Regions from separate parts of the Homo sapiens genome. Here all the other regions are linked to region 2. The links are contacts of gene promoters, found by promoter capture Hi-C in blood cells and fetal thymus (Javierre and others, 2016). All regions are on one chromosome and are shown on one strand. Each heading gives the region's core, a stretch centred on a gene start or on the middle of the fragment in contact. The rest is flanking DNA. Distances are from core to core; before and after follow the strand shown.

Evidence for each region. The method cuts DNA at HindIII sites, captures the fragments that hold promoters and counts their contacts. A CHiCAGO score of 5 or more calls a contact.
Region 1: a fragment that was not itself captured here is called in contact with the fragment with the promoter of LINC02995 in region 2 in 6 of 17 cell types (endothelial precursors, M1 macrophages, M0 macrophages and 3 more); the score reaches 15.2 in endothelial precursors.
Region 3: a contact is called between a fragment that was not itself captured here and the fragment with the promoter of LINC02995 in region 2, in 1 of 17 cell types (endothelial precursors). The highest score is 5.8, in endothelial precursors.
Region 4: a fragment that was not itself captured here is called in contact with the fragment with the promoter of LINC02995 in region 2 in 3 of 17 cell types (neutrophils, erythroblasts and megakaryocytes); the score reaches 7.9 in neutrophils.

The regions. Positions count from the first base shown.
Region 1 is chr5:173,291,837-173,294,536 of GRCh38, forward strand. The region is part of intron 3 of LOC105377731 (a long non-coding RNA gene); the gene reads left to right. LOC124901136 (a long non-coding RNA gene) reads right to left here. Exons shown (of 2, transcript XR_007059055.1): 1 at 2,592-2,700; 2 at 1,291-2,309. It also overlaps the pseudogene RNA5SP200. Among named protein-coding and RNA genes, the nearest start is that of MIR12118, 11 kb to the right of the region's middle. RefSeq lists enhancers at 633-882, 2,010-2,179. The HindIII fragment of the contact is 2,998 bases long and covers 1-2,700 here.
Region 2 is chr5:173,578,205-173,580,904 of GRCh38, forward strand. It overlaps LINC02995 (long intergenic non-protein coding RNA 2995), which reads left to right and starts at 1,430. Exons shown (of 4, transcript NR_027108.2): 1 at 1,430-1,478; 2 at 2,025-2,171. The HindIII fragment of the contact is 2,712 bases long and covers 981-2,700 here.
Region 3 is chr5:173,274,267-173,276,966 of GRCh38, forward strand. All of the region lies in intron 2 of LOC105377731 (a long non-coding RNA gene), which reads left to right. Among named protein-coding and RNA genes, the nearest start is that of MIR12118, 28 kb to the right of the region's middle. The HindIII fragment of the contact is 796 bases long and covers 880-1,675 here.
Region 4 is chr5:173,979,376-173,982,075 of GRCh38, forward strand. No RefSeq gene overlaps it. Among named protein-coding and RNA genes, the nearest start is that of C5orf47, 8.4 kb to the right of the region's middle. RefSeq lists an enhancer at 1,979-2,480. The HindIII fragment of the contact is 1,387 bases long and covers 680-2,066 here.

The DNA of each region.
Region 1 (2,700 bases), core at 71-2,570, 290 kb before region 2:
AGCACACAGCTGGCATCACAATGCTAAATGGGACTTGCACTCACAGGTCTCCTAGGGCCCCGCCACTTCCTGCTGTGCTGACCTGGCCACTGCGCTCATTTCCTAACTGCATAGCCCTGGAGGGATGTGAGCCCGGATTCTAGTCCAACCCCTGATTGGACAGATGGAGAAACTGAGACCTGGGTAGGCCACGCTGCTTATTCAAGGTCACACAGTGATATAGCTGTGAGTGGAATCCGCGTTTTGGACTCCCACTGCCCTGTGGCTCTTTCCACAGGTATTTAAGCTAATCATCAGCATTTTAATCTTAAGGGCAGTGTAACCCTGCGTTTATGACAGGCTTTGTGCTGAATTTGATTAATGTGCACTTTGAGGACATCTCCAGTTTCCTTTGGGAAAACACCCCAAGTAATCATGTGGTTTGGGCAGGGCAGGTCCTGACCCCCTTTCCTGCAGGAGTGCTAGTGACTTCCCAGGCCTGATGGTCAGGCTGCATTGCCTTAGTGTTTGGATTAGCATTGAGGAATTTTGTTGGAATTATTGGGAAAGAGAAGCTCTCTTCCTACTAAGGCCCTGAGAAGCTGAGATGTCAGCTGCAGCCTGGTGGGGGGCCATCTTGCCATTGTGTTGAAAGAGACTGCCTGAGATTTGAGTCAGTACAGAGGAAAGAAGAACCAAGAGACAGACAAAGCAGATTTCTCCCTTTCTCATACTAACCAGGCCTGACCCTGTTTAGCTCCTGAGATCAGGCAAGACCAGGCATGTCCAGGGCGGTGTGGCTGTAGACAGAGAAAGCAGATTTCTAATGGCACCATTTGAGCACACTGATGTAGCTGTGCCTGAAACCCTAATCTTTTTAGTTTTCAGTTTAATAACTCAATATATTCTATCTTTCCTTTTTTTTTTTTTTAACTGGATTGAGTTGGATTTCTGTCACTTGCATTAAACTGATCAATCCAAAGTATATAAAACACTAAATTCGGCCAGGCGCGGTGGCTCATGCCTGTGATCCCAGCACTTTGTGAGGCCAAGGCGGGCGAATCACCTGAGGTCAGGAGTTCGAGACCAGCCTGGCCAGCATAGTGAAACCCTGTCTCTACTAAAAATACAAAAATTAGCCAGGCGTGGTGGCAGGCGCCTGTAATCCCAGCTACTCGGGAGGCTGAGGCAGGAGAATCGCTTGAACCTGGGAGGCGGAGGTTGCAGTGAGCTGAGATCGAGCCATTGCACTCTAGCCTGGGTGAGAGTGAGACTCCATCTCAAAAAAACAAAACAAAACAATGCACTAAATTCACTCAAAGAATATTTATTGAATACTCACACTATACCAATGTTTTAAAATACATTATCTCATTTTACTCTTATAGTAAGACAGTGATGTGGGCAGCTATAATTATTTCTAGTTTACAGGGGACTCGATGGGAGGTTAGAGAGATCACTCACCCAAGGATACTCAGATTGTGAGTGGATGGCCTGGGGTTTCCACTTCAAGGCTGGCTCCTGTGCCCCAGCTCCCTGGGACATCACAGGAAATGCTTTTCAGTTTCCCAAGGACCGTAAACATATCTTTCCTCCCCATCCTCAAAGTATTCCAGACTTTGGAAGTGTGGAAAAGTTGGAATATATGGGTGTTGGAATACATTTAAAAAATCCCACCATTCACAAATAACCCACACCAATTTTAACTTAATTCTAGATTTTCAGTGCAGTTTTTTAATACATGAAAGGTTATATAAAAGGAATCAAATATCAGTATGTACAATGTCATATTCTGCATTCTCATTTAAAATGATGTCAAAAGAATGAGGAATAGTCTCTTTTAAACAATTAATTAATTAATCAATTTTTGTAAAGACAGGGGTTTCACTATGTTGTCCAGGCTAGTCTCAAACTTCTGGGCTCAAGTGATCCAGTGATCCTCTTGCCTTGGCCTCCCAAAGTGCTGGTATTACAGGCGTGAAGCCACCGCGTCCAGGACTGTCTTGAAGGTACTTTCGCCTGAGTTAGAGGGAAGAGGCACGCTGAGGCTTTGGGGTAGACTTAGAGCTGGCCCCGGCTTGTACAGGATGTGGCCCGGCAGCCACCAGGTGATGAAGGGAAGCCTTCCACGTCTATTTCCTCCACCGACAGAGCGGGCTGTAGTGGAGTTAGTGTAAGGGCGAGTCCCGTAGAGACCTGGCCGTCCGTGTGAAGAGGTCTTCAAACCCGTTTGGCGTGAGGATTCCCCTGCCTTTGCCCGCTTGATAAAAAACGCGCGGTGTTCTCTCTCCATGGCCGCCAGGTGGCGATGTGGAATAGGAAACGAATCGCTGCTCAGTGCGTGAAAGGCGAAATAAAGGGAGAGCAAAGCGGAGATTTTTAGAGAAAAGAAGGAAGCAAGCTGAAAATGCACAGCCACTAAGGGTGTGTGCACCATGCAGAGTGAGGAGGGAGGGCGAGAGCCCGGCAGAAGTAGACACACACTGGGGGAGAAAGATACAGCAGCAAGGAGCCAATGAACACAGTGTCATTAAAAACCTCCTATGAGAGGAGGTTTTCCTGTGAGTTCTGGGGCCACAGGGATCAGGTTTGGATGAGGTTCAGGCACTTACCGGTGATGCGATTGTGGCAAGTTGCTTTGCTTCTGAGCGTCAGGCCTCTTGTCTGTAGAATGGACCGTTCCTCGGGGCTGCAGGGCAGATGGGAAACGGAGAAAGGGGG
Region 2 (2,700 bases), core at 180-2,679:
CCCCAAAGAAAAGATGTTTGAAGCACTGGACAAGAAGAAAGCGGGACGAATGTTCATTACAGGTAAATAAAGGTAAATTACTTTAAAGCTCAGACCGTCAGGTATCCCAAGGAGAGACGGCATGCGTGTGAGTGTCATGTGTGTGAGTATCATGCATGTGAGTGGTTCCATCCTTAGGAAGAAAAACATGGGAGGAACCTGCAGTGTGCAGCCTCTGTCCAGACCCACCTGCTGAGGGGCCCAGGCACCCCAAAGTATACCCTAAATATGATCAGATCCAGGGAGCATTGTGACTGAGTTTTCAGGTTAGCCTCTGTGCAACCTGACTTCCCATGGGCAGGGTGGAGTGCTGGGAGCATTGATTCAATTCTTCCCTTGAGCACTCTTCACCCCCATCTCTCTCCAGAAATGTACCGAGAGTCTAACTGCTCTATACTCTGGGAGGAACACGAACATGATTCCACCTCAGTTCCAAGCTTTCTGAGAACCATCCTGGGAACCAGCAAGCATGACAACTCTCCACCTTCTGCATCAGTCACTTGCAAGGAGGCCAGTGGGCACAGTTCATGCTACTGAGTGAGATGGCGCCCAGAGGCCAAGGCCAAGGGCAGGGCTGCATTTTCTGGTTCTTTTATATTTGTAGCAAGATACTCTTAGTGGAAGAGCCCAATATCTGGGCTTGCCTAAAAGTCTCCTTAGCTAGATCATTCAATTTATGAGCTTTCCATCTTGTTGCAGTGTTGCTTAATTTCTGCCTCTCCATAACAAGAATCACCTTTCTTCCAGTCTCTAATGCATTGTTCTCACTTTCCTATAAACCCTCACCAACATTCTCCTCCCACTACTGGCTTCTCCAGTGCCCTTTAGGCTTTCTCTGACACTTTCTTCAAAGTCCTTTCAGCTTCTGCCCTCTGCTCAGTTCCAAAGACGCTCCCACATTGGTAGGTTTATGTTCCATCAGCACCCCACTTCTGGTACTAAGCTTTATATCAGCTATCTACTGTTAGGCAACAGCCAAAACTTAGTGACTTAAAACAGACACAAACATATATTATCTTTCACAGTCTCTGTGAGTCGGGAATTCAGGAACAGCTTAGCTGGGTGTTCTGGCTCCAGGTCTCTCATGAGGTTGCAGTCTAGATATGAGCTGGGACAGTGGTCATCTGAAGGCTGGAATGAGGCTGGAGGATCCACTTCCAAGGTGGCTGACTCAGATGGTTGGCAAGTTGGTGCCGGCTGCGGCAAAGGCCTTGTTTTCTCTCCAGGTGGACCTCTCCACAAGGCTACTTGAGCAGCCTCACAACATGGTAGCTGCTTCCCCAGGGCAAGTGATCCAAGAGCAAAGGTTGAAGTCACAATGCCCTTATGACTTAGCCTTGGATGTGACACACCATCACTTCTGCAGTATTCTACTGGTAACACTGACCAGCTCTGATTCAGTTTGAGAAAAGAGGACACAAAAGCATGAATAACAGGAGGTAAGTTTCACTGAGGGCCTGTGGATCATCTGGGAGCTGTCTACCACCAATAGTCAAAAGAAAAAATTAGGTATAAATATATGCATACGTGTGTGTATATATATATGTATGTATAATTTTAAAAATATATATTTATTATAAAAGTAATTAATATTATTTGTAGAAATTTAAAAAAAATTTAGAGTAGCAAAAATAAGACAGTAAAGATTACCCCATAATAGCTCCATGCAGAGAAAAATCATTATCAACATTTTGGGGTATATCTTATCAGCCTGAACTTTAAACATTTTTACAAAAATGGAATAATACTGGACAAAATCTTTCATGCTATCAATTTTTTCATTTACTAGTACAGTCAAAAACACAGTTTTATTGCATCTTTTTTCATGGTAACATTATATTCCTGCCAGTGATTAAGATGTAATTGATTTTTCCAATGCGCTATTACTGGACATGTAAAGGTTCTCAAATTGTTACATCATTAACAAAACTGGAATGACCATCTTCAGAGCTAACTTGCTGTCTTTATCCCTGATCTTTCCTTAGGATGGATATAGAATACCAGCATCAGCAAGTGTACACGATTTAAAGCACATTTGGTATCTATTACCAAGCTGCCCTTCAGAGAGGTTGTCTCGTTACACATTCCACAGCTGTGACTGAGAAACCGTCTTGTCGCATTTGACAATCCAGGTTACTATCTAAAAACTTGAGTTTGTAAGAGCAACACGCCATGAGATAATATTCGTGCAAATGTAACTGACAAAAGACTAACATCCCATAATACTAGAGCACCTACAAACCAAGAAGATAAACATCCCATTGGGAAAGTGTAAAAATATGAACATAAAGTTTACAGAAGAAAAAACACAAATGGCTCATAAACACACAAAAAGATGATATTGCTTCCTGGTAATTGGGGAAATGCAAACAAAAACTACAATGAAATATCGTGGTATCGTGTATCAAATTTGCAGAGCATAAAATAGATTACATTCGCAACCAGCAACTACAACCCAACCTTCAGCCTCACTGGACTTCTTGCCATTCCCCAAACCATATCCACGCCCCTCTCCACAGGCTGTTCCTTCTGCCTGCATGCCCTCGATGGCACCAAGGGGGATGGGCACACTAACACAACTGCTGGGAATGGGAAAGTTTCAACCTCTTGGGAATAAAATCTAACAGTATTTATTGGAATGTAACCTGTGCATACTCCACA
Region 3 (2,700 bases), core at 28-2,527, 300 kb before region 2:
GCCCGTAGTACCAGCTACTCAGGAGAGTCTGAGGCTGGAGGATTGCCTGAGCCCAGGGGGCAGAGGTTGCAGTGAGCAGATATCACACTCCAGCCTGGGAGACAGGGTGGAAAAAAAGAATCTTGCCCTATCACTTCCAGCCACCCAACTAATCCTCATCCCCACTCCCAGAAACAACATCTTTTAGCCTATTTGCTATTTATTCGGGTATTTGCTTCAATATTTCCAAGTAACATGTATATTAAGCTATCTCTTGATTTATCAATTGTGACCATTATTGTTTGACCTTCAATTATGCAAATGAAGATTTTATTCCATGCATATTTTCTCTTTCCTTTTTCTTCCAATAGAACTTATTATTTTATAAAATGTTTATACAGTATTTACATTATTATGGCATTGTAAAAACATGGTTCAACAGTATTCACCATTGAACCTGATAGTCTACTGTGATTAAGTTTCCTTTCTTGTACAATTTTTCTATGTGCTTGGTTTTCTTTGAATATCTGACTTGCTCTTCAACAGCTCTGCTAGCCACTCCATATCATTTTCTCTATGGTCAAACCATCAGATAATGCATCAGTTCAGTCTTTTTCTTGAAGAGCCTGCTCTTCCTGATCTATAAGCTTTCTGCTTATCCTGGTATTTTCATTCACCCATTTCCTGGGAAATCTGTTTACTTTTCTCTTCTGTTGGTTCCTTCTTCTCCTGATTCTCTGCCTTCTTTGTTTTCCTGGATACTGTCCTTCAGTAATTTTCTCAGGAAGGGTGTGCAAGTGGTGAATTCTTGAGATCTTGCATGCTTACAATGTCTTAATTTTGTCTTTTCGCTTGATTTATAATCTGGCTGGATATAGATGTTGAAATTCATTTTTCCTAAGCTTTTGAAGTAAGTTCCCTATTTTTCTCTAGCTGTTGAGAAGTCTGTTACTATTTTATTTCTTGATATTTTTGTATGTAACTTGGCTGTTTTTCTTTTCTTTTCTTTCTTTCTTTCTTTTTTTTTTTTGAAACTGGGTCTTTCTCTTTGGCCCAGGCTGGAGTACAGTGGTGTGAACATGGCTCACTGCAGCCTTTAACTCCTAGGCTCAGGCAATCCTTTTGCCTCAGCCTCCTCAGTAGCTGGGATACAGGTGCATGCCACTATGCATGGCTAATTCTTATTATTTTTATTTTTTTGTATAGATGGTGTCTCACTTTGTTGCCTAGGCTGGTCTTGAACTGGTGAGCCCAAATGATCCTCCCACCTTGGCCTCCCAAAGTGCTGGGATTATAGGCATTAGCCACTGTATCTGGACTGGCTTTTTTTTTTTTTCTCTGTGGATGTGTTCAGTATCTTTTCTTTATCTTTGCTGTTCTGAAATTTCAGAATTATGTTCCTTTGCATAGTTATTGTTATCATTTGTTATGTTGGAGGCTTTGAAGGCTTTTAAAATCTGGAGATGCATGCTTTGCAATTCTGTAAACTTTTCTTGAATTTTTTTGTGATAATTTCCATTTCACCATTTTATCTGATGTCATTTTCTGGAATTCCTATTACTTAGATTTTCATGTGAGGCTTCTCAAATTGCTTCTCTAATTTCTTTTCAATCTTTCCTTACCTATTACCATCTTTTTGGCTCTTTATTTTGCAAGGGATATTTCAGGAGGATATACTGAACTTTATGTTTATCTAAGCTTTTTATTTTAAATATCCTTTATCTTCCTCTTATTGAAGGATTCGTTCATCTCAGCAATAAACAAAAATTTTTACTCAGAGCAATTTCTCGTTCTTTGACTTTTCCTTTTTTATAGTATGCATCTCCTGTTTCATGGGAGCAATATCTTCTCTTATCACACAGAGAATATTAACTATGATTCTTCGATGTTTTTCTGAGCTGTACATGATCTCTCTGTGCTCTGAGTTTCTTCATAGTCTTTTATGTTTGGTCTGTCTTTCATGGTGGTATTCTTCAAGATTATGGGGATTCTCGTTTCTCGGTTTATGTTTAAATCAGAAGCTGATTGGAAGCTCTGTGTGCTCCTTTTCAAGGAGATATAATTCACATACCATAAAACTCACCTCTTTTTATAATCCTTTGGATATATACCCAGTAATGGGATTGCTGGGTCAAATGATATTTCTGGTTCTAGATCCTTGAGGAATTGCCACACCATCTTCCACAATGGTTGAACTAATTTACATTCCCACCAACAGTGTAAAAGCATTCCTATTTCTCCAGCATGTATACACCATGGAATACTATGCAGCCATAAAAAAGAATGAATTCATGTCCTTTGCAGGGACACGGATGGACCTGGAAGCCATCATTCTCAGCAAACTAACACAGGAACAGAAAACCAAGCACTGCATGTTCTCACTCATAAGTGGGAGCTGAACAAAGAGAACACATGGACACAGACAGGAGAACATCATACCCGGGGGACTGTCAGGGTGAGGGGCAAGGGGAGGGATAGCATTAGGAGAAATACCTAATGCATGTGGGGCTTAAAACCTAGATGATGGGTTGACAGGTGCAGCAAACCACCATGGCACATGTATACCTATGTAACAAACCTTCACGTTCTGCACATGTATACCAGAACTTAAAGTAAAAACAAACAAACAAAAAATAAAGCAAACTCACCTCTTTAAGTTGTACAATTCAGTTGCTTTTAGTATATTCACAATGACTGCATTACCACTATCTAACTCCAGAA
Region 4 (2,700 bases), core at 123-2,622, 400 kb after region 2:
TTGATGACGTGTCTAGTGTTGTCAGTGGAGTATTCAAGTCCCCCACTACTGTTGTGTTGCCATCTGTCTCATTTCTTAGGTCTAGTAGTAATTATTTATAAATTTGGGAGCTCCAGTGTTAGGTGCATATATATCTAAAATTGTGATATTTTCCTTTTGGACTAGTCCTTTTATTATTATATAATGCCCCTCTTTGTCTTTTTTAATTGTTTAAAAGTCTGTCTTGTCTAATATAAGAATAGCTACTCCTGCTCACTTTTGGTGTCCATTCGCGTGGAATATCTTTTTCCACTCCTTTACCTTAAGTTTATGTGAGTCCTTATGTATTAGGTGAGTCTCTTGAAGACAGTAGATACTTGGTTGGTTAATTCTTACCCATTCTGCCATTCTGTATCTTTTATTGGAGCATTTAGGCTATTTACATTCAGTGTTAATATTGGGGTGTGAGGTACTATTCTATTCATTATGCTAGTTGTTGCCTGAATACCTTGGTTTTTCTTTGTGTTACTGTTTATAGGCCCTGTGAGATTTATGCTTTAAGGAGGTTCTATTTTGGCATATTTTGAGGTTTTGTTTCAAGATTTAGAACTCCTTTTTGTACTTCTTGTACTGCTGGCTTGGTAGTGGCAAATTCTCTTTGCATTTGTTTGTCTGAAAAATACCTTTCCTTCATTTATGAAGCTTAGTTTTGCCGGATACAAAATTCTTGGCTGATATTTGTTTCGTTTAAGGAGGCTAAAGGTAGGAAGGACCCCAATCCCTTCTAGCTTGTAGGGTTTCTGCTGAGAAATCTGCTGTTAATCTGATAGGTTTCCCTTTGTAGGTTACCTGATGCTTTTTGCCTCACAGCACTTAAGATTATTTCCTTCATCGTGACTTTAGATAACCTGATGATTATGTGCCTAGGTGATCTTTTTGCGATGAATTTCTCAAGTGTTCTTTGAGCTTCTTGTATTTGGATGTCTAGATCCCTGGCAAGGCCAGGGAAGTTTTCCTTGATTATTCCCTCAAATATGTTTTCCAAACTTTTGGATTTCTCTTCTTCCTCGGGAACACCAATTATTCTTAGATTTGGTCATTTAACATCAGCTCAAACTTCTTGGAGGCTTTGTCCAGTTTTAAAGAATTCTTTTTTCTTTGTTTTTGTCAGATTGGGTTAATTTGAAAGCCCTATCTTCGAGTTCTGAAGTTCTTTCTCCTACTTGTTTGATTCTCTTGTTGAGACTTTCCAGTGGATTTTGCATTTCTTTGTGTCTTTCATTTCCAGAAGCTGTGATTGTTTTTTATTTATGCTATTTCTCTGGAGATTTTTTTATCCATATCTTGTATTATTTAAAGAATTTTTTTAAGTTGGTTTTCACCTTTCTTTGGTGCCTCCTTGAGTAGCTCAGTAATTGACCTTCTGAATTCTTTTTCTGGCAATTCAGAGATTTCTTCTTGGTTTGGATCCATTGCTGGTGAGTTAGTGTGACCTTTGGGGGGCATTAAAAAACTCTGTTTTGTCATATGACCAGAATTGTTTTTCTGGTTCCTTCTTACTTGAGTAGACTATGTCAAAGGGAAGATATGGGGCTCAAGGGCTGCTGTTCAGATTCTTTGGTCCCATGGACCCTTAATGTGGTATTCTCTTCTCTCCCCTAGGGATGGGGCTTTCTGAGAGCCACACTGCAGTAAATGTTTTTGCTCTTCTGGGTCTAGCCACCCAGCTGAGCTACCAGGCTCAGTGTCTGCAAAGAGTCCTGTGATGTGATCCATCTTCAAGTCTCTCAGCTGTGGATACCAGCTCCTGCTCTGGTGAGGGTCCTTGGTGAGGATCCTTAGCTGTAGTTTTGTTTAGTGTGCTAGCTTTCTTGAATGCTGGTTGCATTAGCAGTGAAGTTGTCACATGGACAGACTCAAGACTTCTGGTTATCCAGGATGTTGCAGACAGTGGAATTAGCTGTTGTCTTCTCCCTTCTTGGAGAAGGGTTTTTATGAGTTGCCATGACAGCATGAGTTGGTTGGCCACCAGCCAGGAGGTGGCACTTTCAAGACAGCATCAGCTGTAGTAGTATGGGGAGAATACAAGCTTGCCCTAAACACCTGGATAAGTATTCGGGTTTCTCAGGCGATGGGCAGGGTCAAAGAGATCCCACGAGTTAAGGTCTTTTGTCTTCAGCTACCAGGGTGAGTAGAGAAAAACAATCAGGTGGGGGCAGGGCTGGTGTGTCTGAGCTTAAAGCTTTTCTTGGGCAGGGGCTTGCTGTGGCTGCTGTGGGGATTGAGTGTAGGTCTCAGGCCAATGGAGTTATGTTCCCAGGGGGATTAAGGCTACCTCTGCCGCATCATACAGGTTGCCAGGGAAGTCAGGGAAAGCTGGCCATGACAGGCCTCAGCTCCCACGCAGCCAGCAAGGCCAGTCTCACTCCCTCCATGCCCCACCAACAACACACAAAGTTTATATCCAGTCATCCAGTGAGCAGGGCTGAGATCTTGCCCCAGACTACAAGCCTCTCCACTAAGAAAACAAGCAGGGCTTTGAGGCTTTGCCCTTCTCTGCTTGCTGCAGCTTCTGTGCTCACATCTGCACTTCCCATTTGCCCTCCTCCTCCCTGCTTGATTCTGCCCTGGAAAATTCATGCTTGGTCAAAATTATGACAAAGTTCAGCTGGATGTTTCCTTCTCCCTGTGGTCCTTCCCCAATTCCACTGGCAGCCCTCC